Regions from separate parts of the Homo sapiens genome. Here region 2 is linked to region 1. Evidence: promoter capture Hi-C in human tissues and cell types (Jung and others, 2019). All regions are on one chromosome and are shown on one strand. The core of a region is centred on a gene start or on the middle of the fragment in contact, and the rest is flanking DNA. Distances in the headings are between cores, read along the strand shown.

Region 1 (4,952 bases), core at 2,453-4,952:
ACTGGATACGGCGTCCTGTCGCCACCTGGCAGGAAGGGGCGTTCTTTGCACTTACAGGCGAGGGTAGGCCGCCTGCCCAAGCCCATGCTCTTGCAGGTCAGAAGACACCAGGCACAGCCCTTGGCCGCAGCCCTGGGCCGCCCCTGTGGACAGGAAGCCAGGAGGCCCCAGGCTGCTGTGACTGCCCCCACCGGCCCTGGTAGCCCCACCCTTGTCCGTGTGCCACCAGCGGCCCGTGTCCTGTCCTCCCGTCTCGGGGGACCTAGCCAGACAACACCAGAGACTAGCACTGAGGTGTCCCCAACAATTTTATTATAAATAAAAACAAGACTCCCAGTGGGTGGCTGCAGCCCCTGCCTCGGTGGCTGTGAGCACCTGTTGGAGGGGCCTGCCCTTACCCTGGTCTGGAGGCCAGAACCGAGGAAAGGGCTCCCTGCCCCTCCAAGTACACAGGGGAGCCTGAGGTACTGAGAATAAAAACCAGGGAGGGACTCCCAGGCCAGGCGGCGGCCCCGGGCCCTCTGCCCCACGAGGCTCATCCCTTGGAGCACACAGGAAGCTGCCCGTCCATCACACCACACTCTCTTCCAGCCGCTCGGCGCTGCCTCCTACCCCCCGGCACCCTGCCCCGAGCAGCCCCCCATGCACAGAGTGGCTCCGTCGGGCCCAAGCTCCTCCCAGGCGCCTGGCATAACCGTAGCACCCGGCATCTCCCAGGTCCAGAGAGCAGCTGCGCTGCGGCCGGGGCGGGGGGCTCCGCGGCGGGTGGGCCTTGGGTGTGGGGCTGGGGCCTCCATTGGTCTGGGACTGGACGTGGCTGAGCTTGAGGGGGAGGCGGCCATTTCCGGCCCCCCGGCCCCGAACCAGCAAGGCCACAGTGAAGACCAGTAAGGCAGCCACCAGCACACCCCCCACGGCCACGGTCAGGGTCCCGCCCAGCACGTGGGCCTGCAGGGCGTGGCACAGGGGCGAGGCCGGCAGCGTGGAGAAATGGGCACAGCCCAGCAGCCTGGTGGCCGTGAGGTCAGAGGGCCCAGCGGCCGGTGACAAGGCCAGCAGGCAGAGGTCATAGTCAGCGCCGGGGACGAGGTGCTTCAGCAGGAAGTGGTGGCTGGAGGCTGGGACAATCCTGCAGGCAAGGGCAGGTGGTCAGAGCCCGGGGCTGGGGTCTAGCCCCATCCTCACCTCCCCACTCCCGTGCTCCCAGCTCCAAACACCCCTCCCCCTGGGGCCACTCGGGCTCTTGGGTTCACTCAGGAAGGTGAACAGGCTGGAGAGTGTGGCCAGGAGATGGGTGTGTGCACTGGCACAGGACGCAGGCAAGCGAGGGGAATGGGGTGGGGGGATGGCACCAGCAGAGGCAGAAATAACACGCGGGCGCGGGCCATGTGCTTCAGACAGACCCAACCGCCACCTGCTGCCGGGGAGGCCTGCACAGCTCAGTGACACCTGGGACATCTCGGGGTGGGGTCCTTCTGCCGCCCCTTGAGCTCCAGCCCCCTCAGGCAGCCAGGCCAGGCCAGGCCACTGCTCCTCCAAGAGTCCAGCAGCCATGGTCGGGGAGGGGGTGTCAGCCCCAGAGAGAGGAGGGGTGGAAGCAAAGCCTTGTGGGGAGCAGAGGGCGGAGGAAGGGCGCCGGGAGTGCAGCCGGGTGTGGGGCACGCATCCTCACCGGTAGATGAGGGTCTCATCTTCGCTGCTGTTGTACTGGATTTGGAACATCCACACTGGGTCGGCTGGCCGCCCGGGACCCCAGCTCACCAGCCCTGAGGTGGCGGTCACCTCCGTCACCTGCACGGCTGGCTCAGACTCCAGCGTCCCCTCACCCTCGGCAGCAGTGCGAGCGGAGGCGGCGATGTCCGAGGGCCCGGGGCGGCCCCCCTCGGCACTGCTGTTCCCACCATGGGGCAAGGCCAGCACCCGCAGTTCTACTCGGGCTGTGGCCTCACCAGCAGGGTTGGTGGCGATGCAGGTGTAGCCCCCAGCGTCCCCAGCGCCGGTCACCCCAATCTCTAAGGTCCCGTTGGGGAAAGCCCGGGCTCGGGAGGAGTTGCCAACCAACCGGTCGTCAGGACCGACCCAGTGCATGGTAGGCGCGGGGTCACCCAGGGCCCGGCACCGCAGCGTGGCCCGCTGGCCTTCCAGCACCCAGAGGCGCTGCGTGTGGCGGGCAATGAGGGGCGGCTCACAGGAGAACTCGCCCTCGGGCACTGCCCAGAAGTAGCGGCCGGCCAGGCCGGGCGGGGAGGCGCACGTTTCCAGGTCGTCCGGCCGCGCCAGCCGCCGCAGCCACAGCAGCTCACAGTTGCAGTGCAGGGGGTTCCCGCTAAAGCTCAGCACCAGGGGGGCGGGAGAGGCCTCTGCATCACGCCCACGAGAGAAAAGCGGGTCCGGAGCCAGCGTGGCCAGGCGGTTGGAGGTGAGGTCCAGGCGGGAGAGCTGACCGAGCTGGGCGAAGGCGCCTGGGGGCAGTGCGTCAATAAGGTTATGGTCCAGGTTGAGGGTGTGCAGGGCAGGCATGGCGCCGATGCCGGCCCAGGGCACCTGCCGGAGGTTGTTGTAGGACAGGTCCAGGTCCTCCAGGCTCTCTAGGAAGTCGTCGAAGGCTCCCGGCGCGATGCGGCCCAGCTGGTTGCCGCTGAGGATGAGGTGCTGCAGATTGACGGGGCCCCGGAGGCTCCCGGTGCCCAGCTCCACCAGCCTGTTGCCGTCAAGGTGGAGGGAACGCAGGCTCTCGAGGTCCCCAAAGGCGCGGGCCCCAATGCGGGTGATGGCATTGCGAGACAGTGTCAGGTCCACCAGTCCCGTCATGTTGCGGAAGTCAGGGGGCCCCAGGGCCTGGATGAAGTTGTCAGCCAGCCGCAGCTCCACTGTGCGCCGGTCCACGTTGGGCGGCACAAACAGCAGGCCTCGGTGGGCACAGAGGGTGCTGAGCGACTCGGACAGGTTCTGGCAGACGCAGGGCAGCGGGCAGGCGGCCGCTCCACTGGCCAGCAGCAGCAGCAGGAGCGGCGGGGCCATGGTGAGCGCCCTGTAGGAAGGGGCCACAGCCCAGGCACAGGTGGGGCTGGCGCAGGTGCCCACTTGGGCCCAGGACAGTCCCAGAAGCCAGCTTCTGTGAGCCTGGCCCGGGGAGGGGCTGGGTCAGAGGCCCAAGAGGGCCGCCAGAGATGAGGGAAGGTTGGGGCCTGCAGGGCCAGGCCCCCCAGAGCAAAGGTCACATTTCCCAAGCAGTTAAGGGGGAGTCCAGGCGCTGGGGACAAGGTGAGGCATGAGGCAGGAAGCGGAGGAGGACCGAGAGCAGGGAGGGTCCCGGAACTTCCTTTCCCAGGCGTCCCCAGGAATCGCCAGCCGCCTCCCCACTCCCCGCCATACCCTCCCCCGCCAGAGAAGGCGCCCCCCGAACCTCCCGTGGAGTCCGTGGCCCCTCCCTGGCCGGCCCCCGCGCTGCGCCCGGCGGCCCCCTCACCTGGTGTCCGTCGCTCAGGGGGCGCGGGCCGGCCTCCCTGCGAGCCCGGCCGGCCCCCGCCGACTCCTGGCCGCTCTCCCGCGGGGACGAGGCCCGGGGATGACCGGCCGCCCGCCGCCCACCCTCGGGCCCATGGCGCTCGGGCCCGCGGCCCCGGCTCGCTCGGTTCCCGGCACCTTTTCCCGGCGCGGTTAGCGGTGGCGGCGGCGACAGGCGAGCGGGTGCGCGCCGGCGGGCGCGCGCGCCGCGGACACGCACGTGGAGGGCGGACGGGGAGGGGCGCGCGGGGATCCACCCGGGCCCGGGCCGGCTCCTGAGGTCACGGGGACACGCGGCCGCTGCAGCGCCCACGGGTGGCGCCCAGTCACGCCCGAGGCCCGGGCCGGCGCGGGCCCTCCGCGCTGTCCCCCGGCGCTGCCGCAGCGCACTCACCCTGGCACAGGCGCGCGCGCCCCCGGCCATCCTGGCGCCCCGGCATCCTGCACCGCACGGGCGCCCGCCGCCGCGGCGCGAACCTCACTCTGCAGACAGCCAGACAAAGCGCCTGCTCGCGGGCCCCTTCACCATCTCCCGGAGACGGGCGTCTTTGTCACATGTCGCTGGGCACCCTCCCCAACACACCCACACATGCCCACACACCCACACGTCCCTGCACCCACGGGCAGGGCCGAGCGCAAACCCGCACTGTTGCTGGGACCCTTGCGTTCACAGACACACGCTGAAGGTCATAACCGTTCTGCATCACCGAGTCACGTGGAGGGTCCCCAACCGGCACGGGGTTCGGCCGTGGGGGGGGCTGGGGCGGCGCCCCTGGCAGGGCTGCTGCGGGGTGGGGCCGAGAGGGCTTGGCCTCCGGGCAGGCGCCCCGCCCCCGCCGCCCCGCCCTGTCCCCAGCTGCCTCTCGCCTCTCCCTCCCTCCCCAGCTGCCCCGCCCGCCCCGCGGGCCAGGCGTTCCGGAGCCAACCGGCCTCCGCCTCGGGCCGGATTGGTCTGCGCGGCGCGGCTTCCCAACCGCCGGGGGCACGCATTGGGAAGCTGTGCGTCCTCGCAGCGCCTGCGGCCCCTCCCTCCCGCTCTGTCGCCGCCGGGCCATTTCCCTGGAAGAGCGGCTCGGAACCAGCTCCTCTCAGAGAAAGGGCTCCCGGCGTGAGGTGGGGGAGGTTCTTTGCTTCCTGGTTGAGAAAGCTGGGGCTTCGGTGGCTCGGCGAGCCTGGTTTCCTTCCAGCTGTGCCCGCCACCACCAGTGGTCTGCCCAGTTGGGAAACAGGAAGTCACCACCTCCCCGTGTCTCCTGGTCCTTAAGCCACCTAAACCTCAGCCATCCTCGTTCTCCCTCCAGCCCTGATCCCCATGGGCCAGGTGGCAGGAAACTCGGGGAAACCCAAGATTGGAATTCTGATCCTGTCAGCACAGCAGTGTAGTCCTGGGCACGTTACCTGACCACTGAAAACAAGTTCCTCCTGTAGGCCAGGAGAGTTGGATG
Region 2 (5,199 bases), core at 1,427-3,926, 250 kb after region 1:
TCCTGACCTTGTGATCCGCCCGCCTTGGCCTCTCAAAGTGCTGGGATTACAGGTGTGAGCCACCACGTCTGGCCGATCTCCTTTTTTTTTTTGAGATAAGAGTCTGGTTCTGTCACCCAGGCTGGAGTGCAGTGGTGTGATCTCGGTTCACTGCAACCTCTGCCTCCTGGGTTCAAGCAATTCTCCTGTCTCAGCCTCATAAGTAGATGGGATTTCAGGCACTGTAATCCCACTACACCTGGCTAACTTTTGTATTTTTAGTAGAGATGGGGTTTCGCTATGTTGGCCAGGCTGGTCTCAAACTCCTGACCTCAAGTGATCCACCCACCTTGGCCTCCCAAAGTGCTGGTATTACAGGCGTGAGTCACTGCATCCACCCTGCAGTGAGTCTTGATTGCACCACTGCACTCCAGCCTGGGCAACAGAGTGAAACTCTGTCTCAAAAAAAGGAAAAAAAAAAAAAAGAGGCTAATAGAGTCGTGTCATGGTGAACCGTTTAGGCTTAAAAAGGTTAAAACCCAGGCATCATTCCAGAATGGAGGTGAGAGGATGTCAGGGGTTAGCTGTGGGCAGAATCCAGGATGAATTTCTGCAATGACTTGGAAGTGGGGAAAGACAGCCTGAGTCTGGGCTTAAAAGGGTTTGGCTCCCAGCAACCACAGGGAGCTGGAAAAGAACCAGCATAGGTTTGGCAAGAAAGAGCAGAGTCCAAGGGTTGGGGCTAGAGGTGGAACCCACCCACAGCCTTGAAAGGGAAAACAGACAGGGACTGGGGAATGGGATCCGAGCCAGGGGCTCTGCCTCGAAGCCAAGGACAACTAACTGCGAAACCACCCACCCAGTTCCAAGCAGGCAGTGTAGGGACAACGTTTGTAGTCTGCCAGCTTGGGGCAAAGTTTGTAGTCTGCCAGCTTACCCTGTCATAAAAGCAGCTTTGTCAAGGATGAGCAAGGCACCCCATGGGGATGGGGGTACAGGGAAATAATAGACGAGTAGGGAGGCTCTGAACCCGAGGCCCCACAAACTGTACCCTGGTTAGCAGCTCATCCAACCATAGGAAAGGGGAGCTTGGCTAGGGCTGCCTCCGAGGGTCCCACGCAGCCTCAGAATCATAGCTGCTGCTCCCTTAACTTTATATGACAGGCTGTGTGCCAAGCACTTCACTTATGTTAATTGATAATTTTTACTTATGACTGAAAGGAATAAAGTCAGATTTTTGTTTGTTTGTTTTTGGTTTTGTTTTTTTTTTGAGATGGAGTCTTGCTCTGTTGCCCAGGCTGGAATGCAGTGGCGTGATCATGGTTCACTGCAGCCTCAACCTCCCAGGCTGAAGCAATCCTCCCACCTCAGCCTCCCAAATAGCTGGGACCACAAGCATGCACCATCACACCCAGCTAATTAAATTTTTTTTTTTTGTAGAGACAGGGTCTTACTCTGTTCCCCCAGCTGGTCTCAAACTCCTGGGCTCAAGAGATCCTCCCGCCTTGGCCTTCCGAAGTGCTGGGATTACAGGTGTGAGCTACCGTGCCCAGCCTCAAGCCAGATTATTTTAACAGGGGGATGCATTAGGAGGATTCGGGAGCATCTCTTCAATCCCAGGCAGGAGGCAGCTGGCCTCACGAAAGGCTCAGAGAGGGGACTCCAGAGTGACTGGGATTCTCCAGCAACTCTTAGATTCTCCCTGCCTCATTTTTCCTCCTTAGCCGACTGGCTTTTTCTGATGCTCAGTCAATAAGGCAGGGAGAAGAGGGCCACCAAAACTTCCCATATTCCCATGTTATGGGTCCAACCACAGGAAAAAACTAAAGCTGGATCTGCCCTGATTTCTCAGGGAAAGCATGGGCCACCATGGGTCAGGTGTCCATTTTGGTTCCAATCAGCCATAGTGAGGGGTTGGGGGAGGCCACAAACAGAAATTTGACTGTAGTGGCTCTTCATTATGGCTCCAAGGAGGAAGATGGGGACTTCAGTGTGTGTGTAGGTTTGAATTCAGGTTTGTTTGGCTCCAATGCTAAGGGGTGGCCCTGATACAAAGGAAAGAAGCAGAGCTATGTTCACCAAGCCCATAAGGGGCATGGAGACAAGCACAAAACACCAAGTCCCAAACGAAAATAAAACTTTCATTTGCCAAGGGAACACCACAGCAGCTCCTGCCCTGTACTGAGCTCTCCAAAGACTGGGCAGGCAAAGTCCCTCTGGCCCCCTCTGGAAGTGGAAAGTGCTCGCCCTGGAGGACAGCAACAGAGCCAAGGTGAGGTCCTGCTCAAAGGTGGGCAGGGGGCTGCGCTGACTCCTTTCGGCCCTTGCCAGCGATGGGCCGGCCTCGCTCCTCCCAGATGGTGAGGCCATCGCAAGAGCAGATCTGCTTGGGGTTCTGGAAAAGGCCAGCGGAGCGTGCAATGATGCCACAGGCCAACCTGCAGAAGAATGTGTGGTCAGGGGTGGGTACCTGTTTGGCCCCCACCCCTGGGTTCCTCATGCACCATCCGCAGAGCACAGCCTCCTACAGGGGCCGACACCACTCACCTCTCCCCGGAGTTCCCTGTGATCTTGGATAAGGGATGGCCTCCCCGGCCCAGGTCATCTTCTCCCTCATCAATAATCAGGCTGCGGCCAATCACATCCCACACCTTTGAGGGGAGACGACAGCTTCAGATGATGGACCCTGTTAGGAAGGGTGCCCACCTTCTTTTCCACCTTACCTTCAGCTGCTCATCCTCCATTCTGAAGATGGCGCGGCCGTCAGCATCAGCACGGACATTGCCCAGGTCTCCGCGGTGCTGGAATGAGATCCAGTGTGTGTATAGGGGATGTGTGCCACGTGGTGCCAAGCTGCTATCTTCTGATTTCCTGATTCCGACGCCTCTTCCTGCTTCCCTAAAGTACCCATTTCCTCCTGTGGGTACCAGTCTCGTAGGATCTGAGCTCCCCAAGGACTGGGCAGGCAAGGTCCTCTTGGCCCTGTCTGGAAGTGGAAAGTGGTCCAGGAAGTCCCGGACCATCTGAACACTCCCTCCCTGGAACTGAAATCCTGGGCAGGATGACAGTGGGCTGAAAAGAGCCAGTGGAAGTTTCCCCTGCCTGTGCAGTCATTCCCATTGGATCAGACTGTTTTTCCGGCGAGGCAATTGCCCAGCTCTGCTTCTCAGCCTCCAGTTAGCTCAGTTGTGCAGCCTCCTGATGGCTCTGTGAGCCCTTGGCTGTCTTCAATTCCTATAGGCTTAAGTTGGCCAAGCTTGGCTTCCCTGACCATCATAGGCAGCCAGTGTCATTTCCCTGACTCCCAGATTCCAGGAACAGAAGGAAATGCAAGGGGCAAAGGGCCTGTCCTAGCCCCTCGAAGCTGGCTCTGCCCTCCTTCTCCTTTGACGGTAATAAAAATTGTCATAACACACCTATGAGCACCTCCTAGGTCAGACACACTACCCAACATGGCAGGGAGTATGCAGGTCACCATCCTCAAGGGACTCAGAACATGGTGGGGGCCCAGATACAGAACAGACTAGGGGTGATGACACACAGGGTGAATACAACAGTTGGTGTGTTTTGGGGTGACAAGGCCTTACTAGTGAGCCACAGAAACCCACATCTGTGCAAATAAATTGTCCCCAACCTGACATTTTGGGCAGAAACAAGTGCCTGTGCCAGTACAGGTGGGCTCCCATGACCTTGCTGCTGAGTAACCAGGCATCTCACTGTGCCACCAACTGATGGGCAGGAAGAAGTGGCAGTTCTGCTTTATCTCGTTTTCCAGAGGGATATCTGCTGCCTGCACCTGGTACTTTTTTTTACGCCCTGCGTTGGAGATTTGAACAGTAGAAAGATCAAGAAGGGGGAGGGGATACAGAGCCCTGAAGAGCGGTTTTTTTTGCTTGTTTTGTTTTGTTTTGATACAAAGTCTCATTGCAATGCCCAGGCTGGAATGCAATGGTGTGATCTCGGCTCACTGCAGTCTCTGCTTCCCGGGTTCAAGCAATTCTCCTGCCTCAGCCTCCTAAGTAGCTGAGATTACAGGCACGCGCCACTACGCCTGGCTAGTTTTTGTATTTCTTTTAATTAATTAATTTATTTATTTATTTATTTATTTATTGAGACAGAGTCTCACTCTGTTGCCCAGGCTGGAGTGCAGTGGTGCGATCTGGGCTCACTGCAACCTCCCCACCCCCCAGGTTCAAGCAATTCTCCTGTCTCAGCTTCCCGAGTAGCTGTGACTACAGAGCACGCCACCATACCTGGCCAACTTTTGTTTTGTTTTGTTTTGTTTTGTTTTGTTGAGATGGAGTCTTGCTCTGTCGCCCAGGCTGGAGTGCAGTGGCGCGACCTCGGCTCACTGCAAGCTCCGCCTCCCAGGTTCACGCTATTCTCCTGCCTCAACCTCCCAAGTAGCTGGGACTACAGGCGCCCGCCACCACGCCTGGCTAATTTTTTGTATTTTTAGTAGAGACGGGGTTTCACAATGTTAACCAGGATGGTCTCGATCTCCTGACCTTGTGATCTGCCCGCCTCGGCCTCCCAAAGTGCTGGGATTACAGGCATGAGCCACTGTGCCCGGCCCAACTTTTGTATTTTTAATAGAGACAGGGTTTCACCATGTTGGTCAAGCTGATCTCAAACTCCTGACCTCAAGTGACCCATCCGCCTCAGCCTCCCAAAGTGCTGGGATTACAGGCATGAGCCATTGCACCTGGCCTAATTTTTGTATTTTTAGTAGAGACAGGGTTTCACCATATTGGCCAGCCTGGTCTCGAACTCCTGAACTCAAGTGATCCGTCTGCCTCGGCCTCCCAAAGTGCTAGGGTTGCAGGCGTGAGCCACTGTGCCCGGCTGGAGGAGCGGCCTCAAGGCAGGGGGCAGCCTGGACAGTGTGGCTGGAGGCATGACCCAGCAGGAGTTCAGGGAAAGGCAGCCTTTCCAGGCTGTTTCCTCAGCACACAGGCAGGGGCAATAGGCAGGGGGAGTGGGGTATTGAATGTCCACATCAAGAAGCTAGGCCCAGCTTGTACTCTCAGGCACTGGGAGCCAAGACAAGTTTCAGGCAGGGGCATGGCCTGGTTACTCCAGGCTTCAGAACAATCCTTCTAGTGCAGTCTATGAAAAGTAAAGACTGGAGCAGGGTGAGGAGAGAACAGAAGGGAGCTTAGAGATCAGTTAGGAGATGTGCAAGGGACAACCAGGCTTGAATGCAAATTCCCACATGGA

Evidence for each region. The method cuts DNA at HindIII sites, captures the fragments that hold promoters and counts their contacts. A contact is called where the count stands out against the background at its distance.
Region 2: a fragment that was not itself captured here is called in contact with the fragment with the promoter of LRFN4 in region 1 in 1 of the 25 tissues and cell types used here (dorsolateral prefrontal cortex).

Annotation. Positions count from the first base shown.
Region 1 is chr11:66,855,814-66,860,765 of GRCh38, reverse strand. LRFN4 (leucine rich repeat and fibronectin type III domain containing 4) reads right to left here and starts at 3,702. Exons shown (of 2, transcript NM_024036.5): 1 at 1,673-3,702; 2 at 291-1,129. The coding sequence starts at 3,021. The coding sequence ends at 571. The region is part of intron 12 of PC (pyruvate carboxylase); the gene reads left to right. RefSeq lists silencers at 3,817-3,926, 4,087-4,616. The HindIII fragment of the contact is 20,544 bases long and covers 1-4,952 here.
Region 2 is chr11:66,602,920-66,608,118 of GRCh38, reverse strand. CCS (copper chaperone for superoxide dismutase) reads right to left here. Exons shown (of 8, transcript NM_005125.2): 6 at 2,703-2,780; 7 at 2,527-2,630; 8 at 2,100-2,417. The coding sequence ends at 2,264. Among named protein-coding and RNA genes, the nearest start is that of RBM14, 11 kb to the left of the region's middle. The HindIII fragment of the contact is 5,698 bases long and covers 1-5,199 here.